7 separate regions of the Homo sapiens genome follow, and all the other regions are linked to region 7. Evidence: promoter capture Hi-C in human tissues and cell types (Jung and others, 2019). All regions are on one chromosome and are shown on one strand. The core of a region is centred on a gene start or on the middle of the fragment in contact, and the rest is flanking DNA. Distances in the headings are between cores, read along the strand shown. Region 1 has its middle 62 kb from the start of LINC00977. Region 2 has its middle 79 kb from the start of LINC00976. Region 3 has its middle 130 kb from the start of LINC00976. Region 4 overlaps CCDC26 (CCDC26 long non-coding RNA). Region 5 overlaps LOC124902023 (a long non-coding RNA gene). Region 6 has its middle 13 kb from the start of LINC00977. Region 7 holds the start of MYC (MYC proto-oncogene, bHLH transcription factor).

Region 1 (3,656 bases), core at 96-2,595, 1.4 Mb before region 7:
AAAATTGAGATACCATATGCAATAAAATCCCATTGTCAGTAAGGTATAAATACCAGCTTTTCTTTTTTTCCTGTAGTCTTTCAGAAGAGAGAGCAAGCAATGAAAAAGGAGAAAGAGAATTAACAATCAAAATAAAAAGTCCGCTGCAAACGACCATAGTTTTATAGGTTGATCACTGGTTGATCTTCTGGAGGCCACATAATGTATAAAATATAATTTTATTGGTTCTAAATTTCTCTCTATGCTGTATTCCCTTTGTCCAGGTACTAGGCATATGTCATCCACTTGCCCAACTCAGCTTTTAACAATTAGATTGCCTTCCTCAATTCTCTTTATACAAGTTACAAACTACTAAAACCTGCCTCCATCTAAGCAGTGTGGTGTTTTGGAAATGAACCTGAATTTGAATCTCACGTTTTTTAACTTACTAGCTGTGTGGCCTTGGACAAGTTACTACAATGCTCTGAGCTTCAGTTTCTTCAGTTATAGCTTCCTTTTTACTTGAATGTGCATGAATCACATTCAAGTTAAAGGAATCACCGAAGAACCACAACTTGAAAAAGAATAGAACAGGCTGGGCATGGTGGCTCAGGCCTGTAAACCCAGCACTTTGGGAGGCCGAGGTGGGTGGATCACAAGGTCAGGAGTTCAAGTCCAGCCTGGCCAATCTGGTGAAACCCCGTCTCTACTAAACATACAAAAAATTAGCCGGGCGTGTTGGTGGGCGCTTGTGGTTCCAGCTACTCGGGAGGCTGAGGCAGGAGAATTGCTTGAACCTGGGAGGTGGAAGTTGCAGTGAGCCAAGATCGTGACATTGCACTCCAGCCTGGGCAACAAAAGCAAAACTTTGTCTCAAAACAAAACAAAATAAAACCAATAGAACCAAGGAAACCAAGGTAGCCCTGGGAATCTATTAGGAGACACTGAACATTGTTTAATTCAAGGCTCCAACACAGGTGTCAACAGGCTCTGACTTCTTCAGTTCTGTCTCACTTAGTTTAAGATTCAAATTCCTGAGGAAAAAAATCTGATTGGCCTAGCATCGGCCATGTGCCCATCCTGCCACTCTGACTGCCACTCTTAGACTTAGAGGAAAGGGTTGTCCTATGGAGAGAACTGCTTGTTAGTGACTTGACCACTGGACAGGCACTCAATAGACCCATGGTGAGCTGGCAGAAAGTGGGCTGCAGGAATAAGTACTGTGACCTTACTCTTTTCCAGCTCTTCCTATCTCTTACTAAATGCCTCCAACTGGCCAAAGCTAACTGGCAGCCCAGTGGCAAGGGCTCACAGATACGGCCTCTAAAATGTCAGGTTCATGGGCAGCACAGTTGGGTGAAGAAGGGTGAAAATGGATCTGAAGGGGTTAATGGTAAATACACAAAGCTTGTATTGATAATGTCCCTAAAACATCGTGGCAGTGAATCTCTTTCTCCCTTCCTGTTTAAGAAAAAGGCCCCAGTGACTTATCTTATCCCAGAAGGAAAAACTCTGTGTGCAATCCCTGGTCCAGGAAATTCCTAATAACTTGGAAGTGGCCAAAGCCATGAGTCAGTGGGTCTCTATTCTCTTTTTCCTTGGTTAAGTCTCGTCTTCAGCAAAGCCCCACTCCAGCTGTGAGGTGCCCCCTCCACCTACCCCACGCCTTGAGAAGCCTCATGGAGCCTGTGGGTGGCAGTTCTTCCTACGCTGGTGGCACTCTGAGCTTCTGCCAAGGTTGAAGGAAGCCACTTCAAAAGATACCACTGATAAATGGAATCAGAAGGGCCCTGCTTCCGCACAAACTGTTTCTAAGCACTTTTCACCAGGGCCCATTCTTGAGGCTATGGGTAATGAATGGGGGCCTCTCATCCAGGCAGTCATTTGTCAAGTACAAACTCATCCCTCAGTGTTAGGAATGTTGGGGACCTGAGGGGTTCCATTTGAAAAGAGGGAAAATATGGTTTCTTCCATGGCCTGCCTATGTGTTCCCTCTAATTCCTAGTTGCTAAGTAAGGTTGGAACACTTTTCAGTTTACTCTTAGAAGATAATTTATAATTTCTGATGCATTAGGCATAGATGAACTCAAGTTAAATTTATACTTTTCTTCCATCATTTCCAAACGAATTCAATTGCTATGATTCCATTGTTTAGGAAAACAAATAAAAATAGATACTTGTAGCAAAGGAGTGTTTCATTTTTGCAAGGGCAGCATGATACAAGGAAGCACTGAAACGGGGCTCCCAAACCTGGATAATAGTATTGTTTGAACTTGCAAAGCCATTTTTCCTCTTTGGGCCTCAGTTTCAACGTTTACAATGAGAGCTGGGTGGACAAGAAGGGGATGATTCAAACAGTCGCTGTGATCCAATATACAAAGAAGGATACTTCATAGCAGAAGTGCTGAAAAGAAATTATGCCTTCAGGAAGAAGCACATTGTGATCAGGGAGAGCTACAATGATTGGTGATTTGCTTTTTAAATTTCCCAAGTTGAGTTATGGATGCAAAAGAGTTTGCATTCCATTTTTCTTAATGCCTTTTTGTGTTTTAGTGTTTTGGTAATAAAGAAACAAAGATAGGCTGGGCACAGTGGCTCATGCCTGTAATCCCAGCACTTTGGGAGGCCGAGGAGGGTGGATCACCTGAGGTCAGGAGTTCACGACCAGCCTGGCCAACATGGTGAAACCCCGTCTCTGTTAAAAATACAAAAAGTTAGCCTAGCATGGTGGCACACGCCTGTAATCCCAGCTACTCAGGAGGCTGAGGCAGGAGAGTCGCTTGAACCCTGGAGGAGAAGGTTGCAGTGAGCCAAGATCGCACCATTGCACTCCAGCCTGGGTAACAAGAGCGAAACTTCGTCTCAAAAAAAAAAAAAAAAAAAAAAGAAAAGAAAAGAAAGAAACAAGGATATAAGACTGTTATTGTAGCATAGTTTTGTTTTGATCTCATGGTACCTACAGGTAGTATGTGGTAATGGAAAGAAACTGAGATTTCAGACCTAGGCTCCAATCCCAAAGTTGTTGAACCCTGCATTAAGTCCTGTCAACTATAAAAATAAAATAATAATACTTACTTCATAAGATTTCTTTGAGAATTAGAGATGAAGATGTAAAAGTACTTTATGTAAAAGTACCTTGCCTGTAGCAGGTATTCAATAAATGGGGACTCTCTTTATCTCCGTGTTCGTGCTTGTTCACATTTGCCTGATGATACTCAAAGATCTTGGGGCACCTGGGAGAAGAAGGCTTGGCTACATCGTGTTGATCTTGGCTAGCTGGTGTTTCTGCTGTTAGTATTGATCTTTCTTCTTGATAACAGTTAAGATTAACTGTGCCTCTGAATGACAGGAGCATTGTGAAAACCAGTTCCTCAAGGTGGTCTGAGAAATGGTGGCAGCAACATCTAAATCTTTGTAAAAGCCCGGTTTTTAAAATACAAACAAATTTTCATGGGAAAAGTGGGAGAGGAAGCCATCAGGGGATGGAATTGAGTCAGCAGAGGGTGTCTAAGCCAACTTAGTGACAAGATTCCCTCCTGTTAAAACAAAAAGGTAGCATAGAAGAGTGGGTCAGAGCATCAACTCTAGAGCCAGACTGTCCAGCCCAATTTTGAACTTTGAATTTTCATTTGCTGACTATGTGAGCTGGAGGAAGTTATTTAACCTGTCTTCACCTC
Region 2 (3,650 bases), core at 528-3,027, 1.2 Mb before region 7:
CAATCACGACTGTCCAGCCAAGTATAACAAAAAGATACAGAATCTGCTGGTAAGAGAGAGTATGTGGGGGAAAGGCTTCATTTGAGCTTATAAAATATGGGTTGAGGGGTTTCCTTTCACAAGAACACAGGGAGGTGGCAGGTGGAGATAATAGACTTGAGAAACTAGTTCAAGAAACTGCAAGGGGCTCAGTCTAAAAGACCTATGTCTTGGCTTTTTGCAAGAGTTGCATGTCTTTGAACTTCACCCTGATGTAAGTATTGAACAAATACTCACACTCAACTTGGCAGGTTTGCTGGCTGCCCTCCTGTAATGTAATCACTTTGCAACTTCATACATTTCCCTAGAATCTCTGCAAAGGAAGGTAGAAAAAAGAAAACCCACTAGGTTATAGGTCCACTAAAGCTTCTCCACGCACAATGAAGAGAAACAGCATCTTTCTTTGACAGGAACACAGACTCGGGAACTAAATATATTTGGCTTCAAATATTACATCAGTGGAACACTGAGCTAGACTTCTGTCCTAATTCCTACTGTAGTTACAGAGATGATGCTACTTATCTTGCAAAGATTTTGCTAGGATTAGAGAAAAGTCATGTTAAGTACCTAGTGCACGTTTCTATCTACTATGTACACATAGAGTTGTGTGACTACCTTTTTTTTGTTTTATTCTGTTCTTGTTTTTCAGTGACTGCTGTAATGCTTAAAATAATTTGTGATCGCTCCCTAGCAATTTGGAAGGTCATTCTGAATCTTTTTCCTTTAAAAAAATTTTGTTTTCTTCTCTACCTTGGGCCAACTTACAGTAACTTGCTATGTTTTAAGGAAGCTGCTTAAAACATTTCTGCAACAAGACTGTGAATCAATCAATCATCAGTCAATCAACATATTATCATCACTATGAGAGATCCAGAAATTCCCACAGAAATAATCATCAGAATGACTCAGAAAGGATAAGTTGGATAGAACACTATTGGTAGAAGATTTATTTTCATTAAGCAATGAATTAAGCCATTGATTTTAAGATTTTGGAAATCATACTGATATATTAATGTTAATTACCACATGTAAGTATACTCAGATAATGGAGCCAAGAATCCTGGCTTGGGACATATACTCTTTACTTCCTGGAAATCCCAGAGAAGGAATTTTAGGATACCCAGGGAAGATGTTCTTTCCTCCACCAAAAAGCATTCCCACCTCCCTCCTCACTCCTCTGAGCCTATTTTATCCTGAGGTCTAGTCTCCTTTTCTCTAAAGGCTTTGGATCCTTGGCAACTGATCAGAGCCTTTCAGGCCTCCCTAGCAGGTGATTCAGGTTCAAACCACACAGACTAAATGCTTTTTATGTGGAAGGACCCCAAACTCAACTGGGGTCTTAGATTTCCACTCTGCTTCTTTCCAGCATTTCCTGGCCTTACGGGCTTCCTTATTTCTCATAGGTAGATGGGATCAAAGTCACAGGCTTTACTAAGGTAATCTACTGTAGTAATTGAGACCTGGGGTCTGGAACCAAATGGTGTAGCGTCCACATGGGCTATGTCATCTATTAGATTATGACGTGATAGCTGACAACTCATTCAACTGGTCTGTGTCTCAGTTTTACGTTCATAAAATGGGGTTTGTGATCATCCTTATGTTAAAGGAGTGTTGTAAATTGAATAGGTTAAGCCATGTGTAGCATGACACTGAATCCTCTCCATTCTGCGTCCGCAGACTGTGGGCAGTAAATACAATAAAGATTCTATGTTTCTCTTTTGTTATAATTTCAAATTTTATTTTAGATTCAGGGGGTACATATACAGTTTTGTTACATGTATAGCTGTATAAAGCATATTTTGAATGTGGAGTTTTGGGGTATTAATGATCTTATCACCCAAGTAGTGAGCATAGTACCTAATAGGTAATTTTTCAACTTTTGCTCTCTCTCTCTCACCCATCTAGTAGTCCCAAATGTCTATTGTTTTGTTCCCATATTTATGCCAATATGTATCCAATGTTTAGCTCTCACTTATAAGAGAGAACATGTGGTATTTGCTTTTTTGTTCCTGTGCTGTGTTAATTCACTTAGGATACTGGACTCTAGCTGCATCCATGTTGCTTCAGAGGGTATGATTTTGTTCTTTTCTATGGCTGTGTAGTATTCCATGTTTTCTACCTACCACATTTCCGTTATCCAATCCACCATTGATGGTCAGCTAGGTTGATTCCATGTATGTTATTGTAACTAGTGCTGCAATGAACATACTAGTGTGTGTGTAGTTTTGGTAGAATCATTTATTTTCCTTTGGGTATATATCCAGTAATGGGATTGCTGGATTGAAGGTTAGTTCTAAGCTCTTTGAGAAATCTCCAAACTCCTTTCCACATGGTTGAATGAATTTACATTACCACCATTTGCTTTTATTTGCAGCCTCTGCAGCATGTATTATTTTTTGACTTTTTAATGATAGCCATTTAACTGGCATGAGACAGTATCTCATTGTGGTTTTGACTTGCATTTCTCTGATGATTAGTGATATTTAGCATTTTTTTCTATGTTTGTTGGCTGTCTTCTTTTGAGAAGTGTCTGTTCATGTCCTTTGCCCACTTTTTAATGGGGTTGTTTTTTGCTTGTTGAATTGTTTAAGTTCCTTGTAGATTCTGGATATTAGACCTTTGTCAGATGCAAATTTTGTGAATACTTTCTCCCATTCTGCAAGTTTTTTGTTGATGCCCATGACAGTTTATTATGCTGTAAAGAAGCTCTACAGTTTAATTAGTTCCCAGTTGTAAATTTTTGGTTATGTTGTAATTGCTTTTGATGACCTCGTCATACTTTTTTTTTCCCCAAGGCTGATGTCCAGAATGGTATTTCCTAAGTTTTCTTCTAGGATTTTTATAGTTTGAGGTCTTACATATAAATCTTTAATATACATTGAGTTAATTTTTGTATATGGTGAAAAGTAGGGGCCCAGTTTCACTCTTCTGCATATGGCTAGCCAGTTATTCCAGCACCATTTATTGAATAGGGAGTCCATTCCCTATTGATTTTTTAAATCAACTTTGTTGACCATCAGATGGTTGTAGGTGTCTGGGCTTAATTCTGGTTTCTCTATTGTGTTCCATTCATCTATATGTCTATTTTTGTACAAGTACCATGCTGTTTTGGTAACTATAGCTTTATAATATAGTTTGAAGTTGGGTAATGTGATGCTGCCAGCTTTGTTCTTTTTGCTTGGGATTTCTTTGGCTATTCAGGCTCTTTGGGCATTCTATATTGGTTTTAGGAATTCTATATTTCTATATGATGATCAGAGTCACATCTTTGTTAGACAGAGGCAGCAGGGAAAGGGCGAGACACTCCCCTCATTCTGAGCACAATGCTGTGGAAAGAGTATAGAGTTTCTAGTTAGATGGATTATGGTCTGCCCTTGGTTGCTATGGAAGCTGGAAAAGATACTTGACACCAGTGTACTTCATTTTTTAACCTTGTAAGTAATTTGTGGCTCTTAAATGAGATAATGTAAATGGGGTTCCTTGCATAAAAGTTGAGACTTTTTATAATTCTTCATGTTTCCCTTTTTTGCTTCAGCTATTTGGAAGCTGAATACCTGACAAAAGCTCAAGCACTGTCACCATATAATCCTTTTTTTTTTTTTTACAATTTT
Region 3 (3,724 bases), core at 126-2,625, 1.1 Mb before region 7:
CATTACTGAGAGCCCTACTTCATGCTTCCTTTTAATAGTTGGCTCTTTTTTTTTTTTTTTTTGGATGTAGAAGTCATTGGGTTTCTGATTATTTCATTCAATATATTAATGGCATCTTGTAGCATTTTGCCATATGCACATTGAGCATGTCCAGTTGTGTTCTTGATTCCAAACCACCGTTTTATAGCATTAACCTGTGACATGTATGTGAGTTAACCTCTGATATGCAGTCCCCTAGGGCTATAAATTTCCTTAAGTTAGAAACAGGCTATTTCTGTCTGCTGGCTGCCACCTGGAGAACTCAGTCTTAAAAATCTACTGCATTGATTCCCTCTAGCCCCTCCCAATTTGACATCTGACTTCCCTGTCCCTGTAATTCAGCAGCACATGGCTTGTCCTTTAATACAGAATTGAATTGAGTTGGCTTTTGACCAGTGTGGCCTGCCTTCCAGTTAGTACACAATAACTGTAAAAAATGGGTAATTCTCTTTGATTATTAAAACATTTTTGGGCTTGGTGGAGATCTCTTTCATAGTCTCTGGACAAAAAGATGATTGCAAGGGGAAAATTCTACAATAGAAAAACTCTTGGTTTTGACCAATTCTGCCAACTCTACTCTGTGTGCTTATTAGCAAGTCACTCATATTCACTAAACCTCAATTTCTTCAGTTAAAGAAAGTAATAATATTGATGTCAGTCATTGACCAAGGATTAGAGTAAATGGTTCTCTTTTCAATGGCTTTTTCCTCTTTATTCTTTTCTACTTTTCCAGCTATTTTCTTTTATTTCTCTTTTTGTCTTCTTGGTTTTCTCTTTATACTTCATCTTTTCCTTTTGTTTTTATGTTTTGCTTTTATTTTCTTGCCTCATCTGTACTAAGTACCATATCTTCCACTCCTCTAATGACCATGATGTCTTCTCTGTTTCTACCTAGCATCCTTTACCCCTTTTCTTATTCAGTGCATTGTGTGTCACTTGAGGGATTCCCCCTATACCAAGGGTTTCCAATTTTGGATACCCTGGGCCACATTGGAAGAACAATTGTCTTGAGACACACAAAAAATACACTAACACTAACAGTAGCAGATGAGCTGAAAAAAATATGAAAAAAAAAGAGAAAAATCTCATAATGTTTTAAGAAAGCTTACAAATTTGTGTTGGGCCACATTCAAAGCCATCCTGGGCTGCACGCAGCCCACAGACCATGGGTTGGATAAGCTTGCCCTACACCATAGTACCATGGAAAGACAATCAAGTTGGCCTGACCTCTTCCAGAAAACGGGTGGGCTGGGTGTCCAAGCTACATCAATAAAATGCTTTCTCCTTAAATGGAGTGGTACAAATGCTGAAATCCCATCATAGATTTATCTCATCCATGGTGTCCTGAAATAACTGTTCATTGGATCCTTCCAACTAGATCCCTAGACCAATTCTGGAGCTCTTTTTTCTCTACAGCTAATTATTTAACTTTTATTTTGTTTCAGCAAGCCAGAGAACTATTATATATATATATATATATATATATATATATATATATATATATATATATATATATATAGTGTATATGCTTATGTAGCTTACCTCTATTATATATATATGTATACACATTTGCTTATGTAGCTTACCTCTGAAATTCCCTAAATAATTCATTCTTATTTTTTTTCACCAGAAGTGTCTCCCCTATCCCAACAGCAGATACTAAACCCTAGCGTATACTAGAAATATACACACAGGAGCATGCTATACAGAGCAAAAACAGATGTCAAATGGTATTTGCAAGTCCCCAGCTAGTGTGGGACCCAGCACAGCTTTACCCTGGATGCCGCTCTTCTCATGCCATAAAAGCTGGCTCCAGTTACTGGAGTAATGGAGAGAGCATGTATAGGGGGAATCTAGTCACTGCTAAGTGTTCTCAGAGACCAGGCACCAGAGATGGGGTTCTTCTGGCTCATGGAGCATTGAAACCTGACTGCTCCTTCATTCAGATTCACTTTTTCACAAAGGCAGATGGGATTGTTTTTAGTGTCCCTTGAGCTTCCTTTTCTCAGAGTTGTCAGTTAGCACCTCCATATTCTGCTGAAGCTTTATTCTGTGAATTCTGTTCTTCCACTTTACACACACACACACACACACACACACCTTTAAAGTTTATTTTTCTCCTAACCCAATAAAAATATCAAGAATTCTGGGATAGTGGAAGCTCTCACTGAAATTTAAACTCATGCAGATCTAGCTCTCAATATTCACATTTTCCTTTGGTGATACGCATGGACGCCATTTAACTCTAGCTTCTCTATGCAAGACTGGCTATCTCAGTATCAGGCAGCATGGGTTTTAGTCACTTAATTTCACTGAGCTGTATTATATACCTATATACTTGTAAGGATATATACTTGTAATGGAGAATTTAAATGGATTGTAAACCTAAAGAACAGAACAGGGTGATTTGGGAAACTCTCCTTTACCAACTCAAGAGCTCTTCATCTCTATTGTTTACTTTTCCCCAATTTAAAGAGAATAACAATTTCTAGTACAAAAGAATGAAACAGCATCTTCTTGTTGGTGACAAGCATGTAAAAAACGTATGCTAGCCTATTGCACATAAGCAATAATATGACTGCTCTATAAACTCGTTGCCTGAAATGGTCTAGGAAAATTGAACAATAAATATATCACAGTGATGGTATTACCATCACATCAGGATCTTATTTATCTAGGGAAACTGTTAACAGCTCTGTGCTTAGGACAGAAGTTCAAAAGAATTTGCCTAGAAAAGACCAAGGCTTTAAATATTCGCTCTGAAATGTAGGCTGCTGAAGCAGATTGTAACAGTCATTTGTCTGCTGATTAGTTTAGAGCATTTGTTGTACTGTAATTGCAGGGAGAAAAGGAGTGTGATCATGTGGCTCATTCTACCAGTCACTGGTGGGCATACTTTTCTCCAGGGAACAAATCATTGTTGTTGTTTCTTTCTCTCTTGGAAAAGCTTACAGTGCAATGGGCTATAACCTCTAATAGATACAATACATCTTCTCTGAATAACTTACAAAAGAAATCAATGGTTTGTTTTATACTCATTGTCTCCCCGAATTCCCTTATACGTTTGCCTTGCCTTGGTTGGATAACTTAAGAACAACCATACTTCATAATAAAGAGTTGTCTTGTAAACATGGACTTGGGCTGAAAACATTAGTGGGGCTTGTTTATTTATAGCATTAATTGTAATCCTAGCTCAAAGTAGTCTGGAAGAACATCCAAAAAAGGAAAGAAAAAGAGTAAAACTGATAAAGCACACATCCACACACAGTGTTACTCTGTACAAGGTACACTAGAATCATTGAATTTGTTCCGAAGGAGTGGAGTGTAGAAAAATGAGGTTTAGGTACAGTAATAATAAAGAACTTTATAACAGTTCAAACTGCCCAGTGATGGCTCAGGATGCTTTACAACACTCTAAGTAAGTTCTTCCTCAAAAGAAAAAGATGGAAGACAAATATTTTTGAACTTGAAGGAAGAAGGGACAAATGAGACCGTGGGGTCAACATTTAGTAGCAATGTGGACCTGAACGAATTACTTAACCTCTTTGAGCCTGTATTGTTTTCTACAAAACGATGATGATGATAAGCAACAGGATTTTGAAGATTGAATGAACTTGTGTGTACAAAGTGGCTAACATAATACTTCAAATATATCTGATATTCAATAAAAGTTAGTTGCATTTTT
Region 4 (3,694 bases), core at 241-2,740, 1.8 Mb before region 7:
GTTCTAATAGTATTTTGGTGGAGTCTTTAGATTTGTTTCAAACATAAGATCATATCATCTGCAAAGAAGGATAATTTGATTTACTTGTTTTCAATTTGTATGTCCTTTATTTCTTTATCTTGTCTTATTGTTCTAGCTAGGACTTTTAGTATTATTTTGAATTACAATGGTGATAGTAGATATCCTTGTCATAGTCCAGATTTCAGAGGAAAGTCTTTCAGTTTTTCCCCATTCAGTATGATATTAGCTGTGGGTCTGTTATATATGGCTTTTCTTTTTAAATGTATGCACTTAATGCTATATATTTTTTCTCAGCATTGCTTTAGCTGTCTACAACAAGTTTTGATATTCAGTATTTTAATTTTTATTCAGGTTAATGAATTTTTAAATTTTCCCTTAGATTTCCTTTTTGACTCATGGCTTATTTAGAAGTATATTGTTTATCTGTATGTCTATCTATCTGTCCATCCATTATTTATCATCTATCTATCTTTTTCTATAATTTACCACAGTCTGCTGATACCATCACTTCACCAGTTTAAGCAATGTGTAGAAACATTACCTTCCTTTTTGTTCCTTGGGTATTTTCCGGTTACCTTCTGTTACTGATTTCTGTTGTATTCCATCATGGCTGGAGAATACATTCTGTATGATCTCAATTCTTCTACATTTGTTTTATGGCCCAGGATGTGATCTATTTTGGTATGTGTTCTATGGAAACTGAAAAATAATGTGTATTATGCTTCAGTTGGGTGGAGTGTTCTATAAAGGTCAATTAGATTATGACATTTGATTGTGTTTTGAATCTACTATACTTTGATAATTTTCTATCTAGTTCCATCAATTTTTGAGAGAGAGGTGTTAAATTATTCAACTATATTTTTAAATTTTTTTTTAATTCTATTAGCTTTTGCTACACATAATTTGCAGTACTGTTGTCTATATACTTTAGGATTGCTATGTCTTCTTGCTGAATTGACCTTTTCATCATATAATGTCCCTCTGTGTCTATGATAATTTGCTTTGCTCTGAAGTTTACTTTATCTACTTTATCTGATATTGATATAGTTACTTAAGTCTTTCTTTGCTTAGTTTGTAGATCTTTTTTATTCTTTTAATATTTATATATGAAGTGAGTTTCTTGTAAACAGCATATAAATGAGTTATGTTTTTAACCCACTCTGCCAATCTCTTTGAATTGATTTATTTAATATAATTTACATTTATTTATTTATTTTTTTTGAGACAGAGTTTCACTTTTGTTGCCCAGGCTGGAGTGCAACAGCCCGAACTTGAGTCACTGCAACCTCTGCCTCCCAGGTTCAAGTGATTCTCTTGCCTCAGCCTCCCAAGTGGCTGGGATTACAGGTGCCTGCCACCACACCTGACTAATTTTGTATTTTTAGTGGAGATGAGGTTTCACTATGTTGGCCAGGCTGGTCTTGACCTCCTGACCTCAGACTATATACCCACCTCAGCCTCCCAAAGTGGTGGGATTACAGGCGTGAGCCACCACAGCTGGCCTAAAATTTACATTTTGTAATCACTTATATTGTAGTGCTTATTACTAGAATTTTTTTTGTTTTCTGTTTTTTACATCAGTTTTTCAAGTTTATACTTGCTTCTTGCTTTTCTATAGTTACTTAAATACTTTTTAGAATTCCATTTTGATGTATAGTATTTTTGAGTGTTTATATAGCTTTATTTTGTTGTTGTTGTTTTTTATTTTTGAGACAGGGTCTTGCCTTGTCACCCAGGCTGGAGTGCAATGGCCAGATCTTGGCTCACTGCAACCTCTGCCTCTTGAGTTCAAACGATTCTCCTGCCTCAGCCTTCTGAGTGGCTGGGATTACAGGCGCCCGCCACCACACCCAGCTAATTTTTCTAGTTTTAGTAGAGATGGGATTTCACCATGTTGGCCAGGCTGGTCTGGAATTCCTGACCTTGTGATCTGCCTGCCTCATCCTCCCAAAATGCTGGGATTACAGGCGTGAGCCACCGCACCTGGCCTATATAGCTTTTTAAGTGGTTACTCTAGGTATATTATATTATAAACATTTCTTCCACATATATTGAGACCTATATCAGAGAGCTTTATAATTTTCACTTCTACTATTAAGCATAACTTTAGAGAACTCCAGAGTGAAGTGACAGTCCATTGTATTTACCTATATTTTTGCCTACTGTTTTCTTTTTTCTTTCTTAATGTTCTTTTTTTTTAAAAAAAATTTTTTTTGAGAGAGTCTCACTCTGTTGCCCAGGCTGGAGGGCAGTGGTGTGATTTTGGCTCACTATAACTTCTGCCTCCCAGGTTCAAGTGATTCTTCTCCCTCAGCCTCCATAGTAGCTGGGACTACAGGTGTGCACCCCCATACCTGGCTAATTTTTGTATTTTTAGTAGAGACGGGGTCTCACCATGTTGGCTAGGCTGGTCTCAAACTCCTGACCTCATGATCCATCTGCCTCAGCCTCCTAAAGTGCTGGGATTACAGGCGTGAGCCACTGTGCCTGGCCTCTTTCTTGATGTTCTAAGATTGATTGTTTAATCATTTTCTTTCTGTTGAGAGAACTTTCTTTAGCTATTCTTTTATGACATGTCTGTTGCTGACAAATTCTCAGTTTTTCTACATCAGAATGTCTTGAGTTCCCCTTCACTTTTGAAGTGTATTTTCCTTAAATATAGGATCTGGTTTAACAATTCTTTTATTTCACTTAACAAATATTGTTACATTTCCTTCTGATTTCCATAGTTTCTGATAAGAAATATACTTTCATTCAAATTCTTCCCCATGGGTAAGATGTCATCCTTATCACCCTGATTTCATTATTTTTCTCTGTTTTAAACTTTCAGAAGCTTTACTGTGATGGCTCTTGGCATGTATTTTTGTGTGTTTATTTTGTTTGCAATTCACTTAGCTTCTTGAATCTGTAGATTTATGCATTTTAACAAATTTGGCATGAGGTCATTATTTCTTTGAACTTTTTTCAGACACACCCCCTTTTTCCTTTTCTTTCAGAACTCTAATGACATGAATGTTAAATCTTTTGTTATAGCCATACAGGTCCTTCAGGTTCTGATCTTTTTAAAAAAATACACATTATATATTTTGTCTGTTATTCAGATTAGGTAATTTCTGTTCTTTTGTGTTTAAGTTTACTGGTTCTTTCTTCTGTACCCACTATTATTTCATTGATTCCATTTATTGTATATTTTATTTTAGTTATTATATTTTTTGGTTCTACAATTTCTACTTGGTTCTTCTTTATATCTTCTATTTGTTTGCTTAATATTTATATTTTTTCACTAAGCATGTTTGTAATTTCTACTTGAAACATTTTTTAATGATGATCTGCTATAAAATCTTTGTCAGATAATTGTACCTCTCTGTAATCTTGGTGTTTGCATCTATTGACTATGTTTTCTTTTATTCAGCTTGAGATCTTCCTGGTTTTTGGTGTGATAAGTGATTTTTATTTAAAACCTGGACATATTTGGCAGTTATATTATGAGTCTTTAGTATTATTTAAAGCTTCCGTTTTAGCTGGTATTTTAGCTTGGGCTGCTACAACAAAGATACTGTAAAAATTCATTTCTCATAGTTCTGAAGGCTGGGAAGTCCTAGATAAAAGCTCTGGCACATTTGGTGTCTGGTGAAGGCCCATCTCCTGGTTCATACATGACCATCCTCTTGCT
Region 5 (3,698 bases), core at 475-2,974, 1.3 Mb before region 7:
TGTATCAGTGCTTTGTTTCTATTGCTGAAGAGTATTCTATGGTACCAGTATAAATTTTTAAAATTCATTCTAATGGGATTGCTTCCACTTTTTGGCTACTATGAATAATGCTGTGATGAACAGTGTGACTCACTTTTGTGAGATGTATTTGTGAGCAGAAAGTACTCCCTTCGCTTTGACTTTGAAATCATTCATGTGACATACCTTGGTCAAAGGGATAGTAGCAGATGAGATGAAAACATAGATGTGCTTGCTGGGTTGGGGTTAGGGTTAGGTCTCTCTCTTGCACCTCTGTTATCATCATAAGAAGAGTTTTCCAGGCAGCTATTGCCCTTTCAGACTGGGCCTAAGCATGAAAACATGTAGACAAGACCTGAGTCCAGACCACAGTGAGGAGCCAAGCCCGGACTCACTCCCATTCTGAAACAAAGCTGTGTAGCTGAGCTCAGTTTAGGCAGTTAATCCCAAACTTGATGGCAGAAGTATGATGGGTAATAGTTGTGGCAAGTCAATGTATTTTAGGGTGGTTTATTATGCAGCCGTATTGTAGCAATAACAGATGAATAAAGAAGACATGCGTAATCTGGCTACTTCTGCCTCACCAAACTTATTTCATACTATTTTCACTCTTCTAGTCCTAGCCACTTTGATGTTCTTCTAGACATTCAAACTTAGCATCTGCATGCCTTCCTCAGGTTCTTCTTTATGCATGCTATTCCCTCTATTTGGAATATTGCTCCTCTTCCCCCTTGTGTAATGAATCTCCACTGAACCTTCATACCTCGATTTAAATATCTTTACCTTGGGAAAGCCATATTCGCATTTTCTGAGGAACAAAATGCTCCAAAGCCCAGTAGTTTAAAACACCAACTTATTCTCATGAAACTGTAGGTCAACAACCTGGACTGGGCAGTTGTTTTGCTTGGCCCCTTGGATCACTGATGCAGTTTCAGTCATACAGAAGATTAACTAGGAATAGACAGTTTACGTTTCACTTCTATGGCATGTGCTGGCTTTTAGCTGGGTCATGTGTTTCCAGCAGGCTAGCCCATGATTCTTCACATGGGTGCAGGGTCCCCAGCAGCAAAACAAAGCAAATCCCAATGCACAAACACTTTTCAAGTGACTGCTTGCATCACGTCTCCTAAAGTTTCATTGGTGAAAATAAGTCACATGGCCAAGCCCAGAGCCACTATGGGAAGAAATTACCCAAGACATACATACAGGGAGGCATGATGCATAAGAGGCCTACAGTCTTCTCTTTGACTCCAGTGGTTCATTTTCCTCTAACATGCCAAATAAATTAACACCCTAGGGAGAGCCCTAAAATGTCATTCAATCATGATATCAGACCCAAAGCTGTTAATCTCATAATCCACATTAGGTCTAGATACAGATGAAGCTTCTTGAGGGTAGCTCCTAGGCTATGATTCCCATTGATTCAGACATGACAAATGAAAAGACAAGTTACCTACCCTCATATATGTAATATACAATGATGAAACAGGAACAAAACATTCATAGTACTTTCATTCAAAAGAGGAAGGAATGGGAGGCAAATCATAAAATAAATCATAAAATAAAGCCAAGTACGTGTTGTCAGGCCCCCTACTGTGGTTTTGCTCATGGGATTGGATCTATAAACTACTATTTGCCTGTGCTCTTTTTTTAAATTATTATTTTATTTTATTATTTTAAGTTTCGGGGTATATGTGCAGGATGTGCAGGTTTGTTACATAGGTAAACATGTGCCATGGTGGTTTGCTGCACCTATCTACTCATCACCTAGGTGTTAAGCCCAGCATGCATTAACTATTTGTCCTGATGCTCTCCCCCACCCACAGCCCTCCCCAGACAGGTCCCAGTGTGTTTTGTTCCCCTCCCTGTGTCCGTGCGTTCTCATTGTTCAGCTCCCACTTATAAGTGAGATCATGTGGTGTTTGGTTTTCTGTTCCTGCATTAGTTTGCACCTCATGCTATAAAAATTTTGTAAAGTAGTTATTTTCTTTTTCAGGCTGCCTCTTATCAAAAACAAAAATTTTTTTTTGGTAGGGGGAAGGGTCCAGAGGACGGTCTCAATTTCCTTTAATCTCAGATTGTATAACTTCCTTAAAACCTTTTTGGGTTTGCTATGTATCACCTTACATCCCTTTGTCTAGTACTCAAAATCCACAGCCAAAATTCTTTTTGGGAAAGCCTTCTCCCACTACATTTTAGGGCTGTTTTGAGATTAAGCTTCTATGGGAACATGCAATTAAGATTTTTAAAAGCAATTTTGTTTAGCTGAGAGGGTCTACTAAGTACAACTTTCAATCTTTTAGGGATCTTAACAAGGAGTTATATCAAATCACACTCTTGATTTGATCTTTAATCTGAGGCCATTTCTTACATAAGAAATCTTATTGCTATCTGGAGAGACTAAAGCTGTGAAACAGTTTTATTTTTCAATGTAGAAAATTCTGATTACATTACAATTCCTTTGAATATTGCTTGCAATCTCAAGAGTTCTCTCTTTAGCTCATCTCATGCTTCGCCAGCCTTTTCAGATGCAGCTAATGGAAGCCAATTGTCACTTTCAAAGTTCTTCCTGGTAATATCCTTAGCCAGATCTGCAAATTCATTAGGAATATTTTCTTTCAGCTAACTCAGATGACAATTTGACACTGCTGCATAACACAAATCAACTGTTTTCCAATTTCCAAAGGCAGTTTCCTTAGCACTTTTCAAGACCATAAAAAAGTTGTGTTCACTACTTTACAAGATGTAAATAACAGCTTTCTCACAACTTTTTCGTTCTCCACCTACTGTCCATTCCCAAAGCTCATCACTCCTGTTTTAGGTTTTATGACAGCAGCACTCTTCTAGGTATTTTTTCTATGTCAATTAGCCTTTGCCACATAGCAAACCATCCCAAAGCTTATTGACTTAAAAGGATGACCATTCTATTTGTTCATGACACTTTGGGTCATAATTTGGGCTGAGATTAGCTGGATAGGTCTTCTGGTCTCACCTGGGATCATTTATGCAGCTGCAGCCATTGTCATCTCAAATTCAGCTGAATGATTTGATTCTATGCAGCCATAAAAAAAGAATGAAATCATGCCCTTTGTGTTGCTATAACAAAATACAACAGATTGGGTAATTTATAAAGAACAGAAATGTATTTCTCACAGTTATGGAGGTTGGGAAGTTCAAGATCAAGTTGCTGGAAACTTCATTGTCTGGTGAGGGTTCTGTCTCTGCTTTTAAATTGATGCCTTGAATGCTGCTGCCATTGGCATTAGGACATAAAGGGATGAACTCCCTCTGGCAAGCCTTTTTATAAGGGCACCCACTCCCATTCATAAGGGTAGAGACCCTATGACATAATAGCCTTCTAGAGGGCCCACCTTTTAATACCATCACTTTGGTGATTAGGTCTCAACATTAATTTTGGAGGAAATACCACATTCAAGCCAAGGCAGATGTTTCACTCATACACCTGGCCATGGGTGCTAGCTGCTGGTGGGGCAACATATATCCTGCAGGTCATCCTGAGTTTCTGCATGTGGTAGCAGAAGAGTTACCAGCAGCAAGAGAAGACAAGCCCCAGTGCACAGTGCTTTTCATACCTCTGTGCACTTCAGGCTTGCTTATATCTCATTGACCATTGACCAAAGAAAACCATGTGGCCAACCCCATAGTCATTGCAGAAGGGG
Region 6 (3,744 bases), core at 430-2,929, 1.5 Mb before region 7:
GAGGTTTACTTTTCTTATAGCATTTAATATCATCTGGTGCAGATGGAGCCCTGGTCAGTGAGTGAACTAATTAATAGTTGATAAGTTTCAATGGAGATAAGATTATTTCTATCACTGGGGTTAAGTATCCTTCATCAAAGCATCCAGGTGAAACTGTGAATTTTGTCCCTCAGGTTAGTCAGGAGGACTAAATCCAGGAGAAAGGTTAAATGAGGTCAGAGAGATGGGAAAACAGCCACAATTTGCATTCTAGAGCACATGATCATATGTATTTATAGATACCTGCAGAAGCATAAGGGAAAATACAGTATGCAGAGATAAGATTTTCAAAGCTCCTAAAATGCAAACTGAACCATGCAATACATTAAGAGAAGATTAGCAATAAGTATCTGGTACTGGATAATATCAATTTCTTTATTTCTTTTTATCAGAAAGCTTCATTACAATTTGGAACAGCAATTCCAAATTGACAAAGGTTGGCTTATCTTAAAGACTGGATTAGACTATGTTTAAACACAGATATAGAAGTATTTCTAGCTTTAACCTTTTACATAAATAATTTCTAAAGTGATTTTGCATCTATTATTTAACAGATTCATTTATGCACAAACAAACCTAAGAGTTAAGCAAAACAGATTTTAGGATTTCAGGTGGAGGTCAGAGAACCTAGGTTTGAATGTCACAGGTTTTCACATACGTTTAATGTCTCGATGTTGGGAATTCTCTTAAAGTTTAATGGGCATATGAGAGAGAAGTGTAGGTTGCAGTGTGCCAATCATTTGCTCATTTCTTCAAACACAAATGTGTCAGTAACTGGCATGAGGTCTGAGGCTCACAGTCCCCGAGAGAGAGGAAGACAAGTTCAGCAATAGCTATAATAAAAGACAAAATGTAGAGAGCACCATTAGGAAGTTATGGTGTGTTTTGGGAGTTCATAGGAGGAATATAATGCATTAATTTTCTTGTCAGAATATCCCAGTGGGTTTTGTGGGCAGCTGTACTCAGCTCAGCTGGTGTGGGCAGGGAGTCGGGGTGGGGAGAAGAACAGACTTAACTGCTGTCTGTTGTTCCAGACAATAAACCCAGAACTTCACAAAGATTGTCCTTGTCAGATGTTGAGGGCAAATGTCTTTGCTTTTACAGATGTACCCATAGGGTCAAGCTCCAGCACAGAGACCCATCCTGGGATGCAGGACTTGGTGCCAGGGAAGTCCCAGGTAAACCAAATGAGTTGGTCATCCTACCTGGGAAGTGTGTGACCTAACATAAGTTATTCTGTGTACCTGCTCAGATCTTGAAGAAGCTGACAGCTGGAAGCTGTCTGCTAACACTTTCCTTTACCTGGGAATCAGGTCCCTCCCTAGAATGTGGTCCTGGGGCAGTGCATCTCCAGGACTACCACTTTTACCTTTGCCATAGTTATTATACCCATTTCTAGAAAAAGAGATTAGTCTCAATAAATTTCAGTGCCTTGCGTGAGGATTAGGGATCTCTAACATCAAAATTTGAGCCTGTGTGTATTATCTACGTAGATAATTCTTGTTCACTCCTTTCAGTTTCTTTATTGTAATTGGCTCTGAAATTCTTAAAAGGGTCAGTGGGCCTGTCTTCAAAGATAGCATCAAGGAGAGATTGAGGGAGGTAGGAATATTCTGCCTTGTCCAGCTTAAGGAAGAGGGATCCTGGAAGAGCAGATAGGTGGCAAAGCTTTAAATAGGGATGGTGAGCACCACAACTCATTGGGTCTATGGCAAGAAAGGAGCTGAATTCTGGACCTGGCTTGGGAGCACTGTTAGCCCTGAGAGCACGTTTGTTGCAAGGCTGTGTGTCTCCATAGGCAGCTTTCCTCCTTGCTTGTATTCTTGAACCCACATTTTATAAGCCAGCAGTGAGCATATGCTGAATGCTGTGGAATTGTTTATGAAAAGCTTTCCCCTCTTTCCTAGAGAGCGAAAAGGTGAAAGGGGATCTGTTAATAGCAAGAAAAGGAAGTGGTTGAAGTGCATTCCATGATTCCTTGGCCTTTAAGCCTGAAGAAGTTAAATAATTTGATGCACAGAGCCTGACTACAATTCTAATGAGCAAGCTGGCAGAGAAAATTAATGATAATAAATTAATTCCAGAGAATTCCATTTTATGTGCTCAATTATTAACGGTATTGCAGTGTTATTAATGGTGTCAATTATTAATGGCATGAATAATTAAGAAAGCACATCCATGTTATGATGTACAAGGCTTCTAGGGTTGGGCAAATTGCTCAGAATAAATAAATAAACATGTCAGGGTTCAGACCTATAACATGTTTCAGGACCCAGCCTCCAACATGTTTCCTGGAAAACACGGGTACATCTTTCATCAGAGGTCTCCGTTACAGGGACTCCTTCCCATGTCTTATATCACGATAGTAACAAGAAAGAGGTTTGGTATGAAGGACCATATTTCCTTGGCATTCTGATCTTCCAGGATGTCTCAATTCATCCACTGGGTAGACACTGACTGAAATTGATGACCATAAGAAACTAGGTGTGAGATTAGGGAGGGCTGTGCACATTTAGTAAATCTAAGAGGGCTGACCAGGTAAGCTAAACATGAGTAGTTGGGACTGAGTTTAGTTTGCAAGACAGCAGCAACATCGAGCAGGTGTTATCCCAGCCATTGCAACCAGATTTGAGGAATGGTAAGCAAAAACGTGGGAGGAAAGTATGGTTTCAAATTGGACAATTTATTGGCTATGTGAATGAGTATCCTACAATATCTCTCTGTGCCTCAGTTTTCTCATGTGAATAATGGGGATGATATTTATGCTGAAGGCTGTTTGACAAAATGAATGGATGGGATATAACAAGGTCTCAACAAATAACTTTTATTATTGTTATTATTCTTTTAGTTATTGTTATTATAAAGATCTTCTAACCTAACTTGCCTGCTTTATAGGTGAAGAAATTGAAGGCTGAATAATACATGTGACTTGTCACTAAGTTTGTGTGTAGGATATCTTCCCGTTCCCCCCCCAGATTGCCTATTTGCTCCATTGGCCCTCTTTTCCAGGAGCCAACTTCTATGCATGCCATTGACATGGCTCAAGTGCTTATTAGGTTTTGCCAATAGGGTGACTCAACAGAAGATAAGAAAGAAGGAAGAAGATGAGGTCGGGGTATTTATTTTCTTGGCTCCTTCCCTGAGGGCTCCTATCAGTTGGCTGTGTATCTCTGCGGAAGCCTACAGGTACCCTCAAAGCAGCTGACAGTACATGATTTTCTTTTTTAGGGATCCTGAATGATTCCTTTCAGTCTACAGATGGTAGCAAGTTCGCAGTTAACAGCTCTGAGCTATTGAACCATTCTTTTTTGAAAAGTGTGTATCAAATTATCCTACTTTGAGTATTTCTGATAGATGCAATAAGTGAGACGGCACTGGTGTCCAAGACTCTTTGTTCTTGGTGCACCATCTTTCCCACATATCACTTTATTTCATTCATATACTCTCTAAATTATTTATGAAGAATAAGGCCCTTTGCTGGGTGCAGGAGATATAAAAATCTCCAAAACATGAGAGCCCAATCCTCTGAAACACCATGTGATGGTACTCCAATGCAGGGGTTAGCATTTTTTTTTATAAAGAGCTAAATAGTACATATTTTAGGCTTTGAGCTGTATGTCTTTGTTGCAACTACTCAACTCTGCGATTGTGCAAAAGTGACCTTAGGCAATACATCGACAAATGAGTATGACTATGTACCAATGA
Region 7 (4,075 bases), core at 1,204-3,703:
CGGCCGAGAAGCCGCTCCACATACAGTCCTGGATGATGATGTTTTTGATGAAGGTCTCGTCGTCCGGGTCGCAGATGAAACTCTGGTTCACCATGTCTCCTCCCAGCAGCTCGGTCACCATCTCCAGCTGGTCGGCCGTGGAGAAGCTCCCGCCACCGCCGTCGTTGTCTCCCCGAAGGGAGAAGGGTGTGACCGCAACGTAGGAGGGCGAGCAGAGCCCGGAGCGGCGGCTAGGGGACAGGGGCGGGGTGGGCAGCAGCTCGAATTTCTTCCAGATATCCTCGCTGGGCGCCGGGGGCTGCAGCTCGCTCTGCTGCTGCTGCTGGTAGAAGTTCTCCTCCTCGTCGCAGTAGAAATACGGCTGCACCGAGTCGTAGTCGAGGTCATAGTTCCTGTTGGTGAAGCTAACGTTGAGGGGCATCGTCGCGGGAGGCTGCTGGAGCGGGGCACACAAAGCGGGAGGCAGTCTTGAGTTAAAGGGGTCTTGGTGCGGAAACCTGGCGCAGCGCGCAGTGCGCGCCACAGTCCCGAACCTCTCCCCTTGCAGAGCTATCCCCTAAAGCGGCTGGGTGGTCTTGGTGGGGGAATAAAGGGAGCACCCTTTCACCCCCTTTGGACAGTCCCCTGCTATCTCGGAGACGCACTTAGTGAACCAGCGGCTTGGTGCCCGCCGAGCCCCCGCTCCCCCGGGAGCCCGGAGCGCAAAGCCCGGGAGTCGGCCCCGCAGCGGCAGAGGAATCGAAATCGGCCCTGGCGCCCTTAAGAAGCCGCGGGAGGTGGCGGTGAGGAAAACAATTTGCCAAAATCCAAGGCACAAAGTTTTGCGCCACCTGAAGGAGAAGGCGAGAGGCGCCTGGGCGCTAGCGGCTGCGTGAACCCCGCTCCGCGCCGGGGCCCCTCCGCTGCGGCTGTTCCCACTCGCGCCCTAGCCGCTCTCCTACCCCCGCCGGCACCGCAGCCCCTCCCAACCTTCCCTCTCCACCGCCCCCGTCCCCACCCCCAGTACCGCCCCCGTCCAACACTCCTTTTGCCAGCTTTTCTTCTTTCTCTCGCCGGCTGGAGTGGCGAGCTCAGCCGCGGGCTTTAACACCCCTCCATAAATACAAGGGGGGTGTCAAATAATAATAGGGGCACCTCCCTTCGCACTCAATACGGAGATGCAACTGCGCCAGAGACCCCGCTGCGATACCTCCCCCGGAGCCACCCCACCAAGGGTAGCAGCTGTTCTGGAACCGCCCAGAGCCCCGCTCCTCGCAGTTCCTCCGCATCTCGGGCGCGAGGACACCCGAGGGCGGCCGCGGCAGGGGAGTCAGGGCTGGGTGCGGAGATTCGCCCTGGTTTTTCCAAGTCAACGATTCCAGGAGAATCGGACACATCCTCGCCTCCCTTTTCCCCTGCCTGCGCCTACCCAACACCACGTCCTAACACCTCTAGAGACCCAGGTTTTAAATTGTATTATTGCTTTTTAAAAAGCCAAATGCCAACTTCTTAAAAGGATCAGGGCGGGTTGGAATCGCCGCGGGGACAGGCGGGCGGGACGCGCCGCAGTGTCCGTCTCCGGCTGTCAGAAATGCGGTGAGCCGAAATTTAAATGCCCTCCCGGAGACGGGGACAAGTCAGCGGCTGCGGAGCGATCTGGCTCACACAGGCGATATGCGGTCCCTACTCCAAGGAGCTCAGGATGCAAGGGGCTTTCTGCCCACCGCAAAGCAACCCCCAGCCCCCCAAAACCCAGAGAGCAATTAACACAATAAAGCAGGAATGTCCGACCGGCCGGGAGTCAGCGTGAATATATTCATAAGGCAGAAATCTCGAAAGGGTAGTCTTAAAAACCATTCCCGTTTTCCCTCTGCCTTCTCCTCTCCCATCTTGACAAGTCACTTTACCCCGATCCAGTTCTGGATTACCCCCCACCCCAGCCCCAGTTACCATAACTACTCTGAGAAAAGTGTCAATAGCGCAGGAATGGGAGAAAAGACACCCTATTTAGGCATTCGACTCATCTCAGCATTAAAGTGATAAAAAAATAAATTAAAAGGCAAGTGGACTTCGGTGCTTACCTGGTTTTCCACTACCCGAAAAAAATCCAGCGTCTAAGCAGCTGCAAGGAGAGCCTTTCAGAGAAGCGGGTCCTGGCAGCGGCGGGGAAGTGTCCCCAAATGGGCAGAATAGCCTCCCCGCGTCGGGAGAGTCGCGTCCTTGCTCGGGTGTTGTAAGTTCCAGTGCAAAGTGCCCGCCCGCTGCTATGGGCAAAGTTTCGTGGATGCGGCAAGGGTTGCGGACCGCTGGCTGGGGGATCAGCGGGAGGGCTGGGCCAGAGGCGAAGCCCCCTATTCGCTCCGGATCTCCCTTCCCAGGACGCCCGCAGCGCAGCTCTGCTCGCCCGGCTCTTCCACCCTAGCCGGCCGCCCGCTCGCTCCCTCTGCCTCTCGCTGGAATTACTACAGCGAGTTAGATAAAGCCCCGAAAACCGGCTTTTATACTCAGCGCGATCCCTCCCTCCGTTCTTTTTCCCGCCAAGCCTCTGAGAAGCCCTGCCCTTCTCGAGGCAGGAGGGGAGCCAGGGACGGCCGGGGCCCGGCGGTGGCGGCCGCGAGCAGCACAGCTCGGGGGTCCTCAGCCGTCCAGACCCTCGCATTATAAAGGGCCGGTGGGCGGAGATTAGCGAGAGAGGATCTTTTTTCTTTTCCCCCACGCCCTCTGCTTTGGGAACCCGGGAGGGGCGCTTATGGGGAGGGTGGGGAGGGTGGGGAAGGTGGGGAGGAGACTCAGCCGGGCAGCCGAGCACTCTAGCTCTAGGATGTAAACAGAGTAAGAGAGCCGCATGAATTAACTACGCGCGCCTACCATTTTCTTTTGCTCCCTCTCAAACCCTCTCCCTTTCTCTGCTGCTCCTCCGTAGCAGTACTGTTTGACAAACCGCATCCTTGTCCTGTGAGTATAAATCATCGCAGGCGGAACAGCTGCCCTCCACACCGAGAACGCACTGCGCGCCCACCGCCACGCCACGCGCGTACCAGGCTGCAGGGCGCCTCGCTAAGGCTGGGGAAAGGGCCGCGCTTTGATCAAGAGTCCCAGGGAGAGTGGAGGAAAGAAGGGTATTAATGGGCGCGCGTTCAGAGCGTGGGATGTTAGTGTAGATAGGGAGGAATGATAGAGGCATAAGGAGGAAAACGATGCCTAGAATGATTAAAATAACCCAGCAACGCATTGCCACGTATACTTGGAGAGCGCGTTATGAATAAACTCCCATTGCATTTGTTGGGGGGAGTCATGTATTATGCATTATGTATGCACAGCTATCTGGATTGGATACCTTCCACCCAGACTGAGTCCCCCAATTTGCTGCCAAAGCAGCAGATACCGCCCCTCCTGCCCCGCCTGCTCAGGCTTCCGTGGGGCCCCGTGCGGGAGGCGTCTGTTTAGCCCTGAGATGTGTCTGCCTGTTCCAGAGCTGGGCTAGGGCGAGAGGGAGGTTGCCTGCTCTCTGCCAGTCTGTACCCCACCGTCCCACCCCCACGCCTCCCACACGGAGTTCCCAATTTCTCAGCCAGGTTTCAGAAGAGACAAATCCCCTTTGCGCCCTGTGGCGCCGGTTTGCAACAGTCTCGGGCTGCCGGGTTTGGGAGAAATCAAAGGTGCTAGACGGGAGAATATGGGAGGGGCAGGGGGTACCCGAACCGCGGGACCGGACTTCCTAAAAGGGGCAAGTGGAGAGCTTGTGGACCGAGCCGGGGGAGTCAGCAGAGACCCTTGTGAAAAAAACCGTTAACTCTTTCCTCCCCGGACAAACCGGACGTTTAATTCCTTTCCAGGTCCTCTTTCCCCTTTTATTATTGGAAATGCGGTCATGCACAAAAAATGCATCGATTCTGATCAAAGAAGAGGAGAGGAGTATTACTTCCGTGCCTTTTTTTGGGGGGGGGGGAGTCTTGAGCTAATTAAAATTTGGCTGCCTTCCAGGCATTAATTTCCTAGTTCACTGACTCACAATTTTTTCTGAATACTAGTGAAAGTGCACTGTATGTAACCCGCAAACGTGTATTCACATTTTATTTACGCTTCGACTTAGCTA

The links. Contacts are between HindIII fragments. The study calls those that stand out against the background at their distance.
Region 1: a fragment that was not itself captured here is called in contact with the fragment with the promoter of MYC in region 7 in 2 of the 25 tissues and cell types used here (aorta and hippocampus).
Region 2: a fragment that was not itself captured here is called in contact with the fragment with the promoter of MYC in region 7 in 2 of the 25 tissues and cell types used here (H1 embryonic stem cells and spleen).
Region 3: a fragment that was not itself captured here is called in contact with the fragment with the promoter of MYC in region 7 in 1 of the 25 tissues and cell types used here (H1 embryonic stem cells).
Region 4: a fragment that was not itself captured here is called in contact with the fragment with the promoter of MYC in region 7 in 2 of the 25 tissues and cell types used here (dorsolateral prefrontal cortex and hippocampus).
Region 5: a fragment that was not itself captured here is called in contact with the fragment with the promoter of MYC in region 7 in 1 of the 25 tissues and cell types used here (dorsolateral prefrontal cortex).
Region 6: a contact is called between a fragment that was not itself captured here and the fragment with the promoter of MYC in region 7, in 1 of the 25 tissues and cell types used here (adrenal gland).

What each region holds. Positions count from the first base shown.
Region 1 is chr8:129,177,906-129,181,561 of GRCh38, reverse strand. No RefSeq gene overlaps it. Among named protein-coding and RNA genes, the nearest start is that of LINC00977, 62 kb to the left of the region's middle. The HindIII fragment of the contact is 7,709 bases long and covers 1-3,656 here.
Region 2 is chr8:128,885,292-128,888,941 of GRCh38, reverse strand. No RefSeq gene overlaps it. Among named protein-coding and RNA genes, the nearest start is that of LINC00976, 79 kb to the left of the region's middle. The HindIII fragment of the contact is 8,069 bases long and covers 1-3,650 here.
Region 3 is chr8:128,831,559-128,835,282 of GRCh38, reverse strand. No RefSeq gene overlaps it. Among named protein-coding and RNA genes, the nearest start is that of LINC00976, 130 kb to the left of the region's middle. The HindIII fragment of the contact is 3,977 bases long and covers 1-3,363 here.
Region 4 is chr8:129,501,734-129,505,427 of GRCh38, reverse strand. The region is part of intron 1 of CCDC26 (CCDC26 long non-coding RNA); the gene reads left to right. Among named protein-coding and RNA genes, the nearest start is that of MIR3686, 19 kb to the right of the region's middle. The HindIII fragment of the contact is 3,405 bases long and covers 1-3,192 here.
Region 5 is chr8:129,080,946-129,084,643 of GRCh38, reverse strand. The region is part of intron 1 of LOC124902023 (a long non-coding RNA gene); the gene reads right to left. Among named protein-coding and RNA genes, the nearest start is that of LINC00976, 120 kb to the right of the region's middle. The HindIII fragment of the contact is 5,866 bases long and covers 1-3,698 here.
Region 6 is chr8:129,251,895-129,255,638 of GRCh38, reverse strand. No RefSeq gene overlaps it. Among named protein-coding and RNA genes, the nearest start is that of LINC00977, 13 kb to the right of the region's middle. The HindIII fragment of the contact is 4,602 bases long and covers 1-3,744 here.
Region 7 is chr8:127,734,609-127,738,683 of GRCh38, reverse strand. It overlaps MYC (MYC proto-oncogene, bHLH transcription factor), which reads right to left and starts at 2,453. Exons shown (of 3, transcript NM_002467.6): 1 at 2,061-2,453; 2 at 1-436. The coding sequence starts at 2,090. RefSeq lists a silencer at 2,548-2,737 and a cis regulatory region at 3,225-4,075. The HindIII fragment of the contact is 14,684 bases long and covers 1-4,075 here.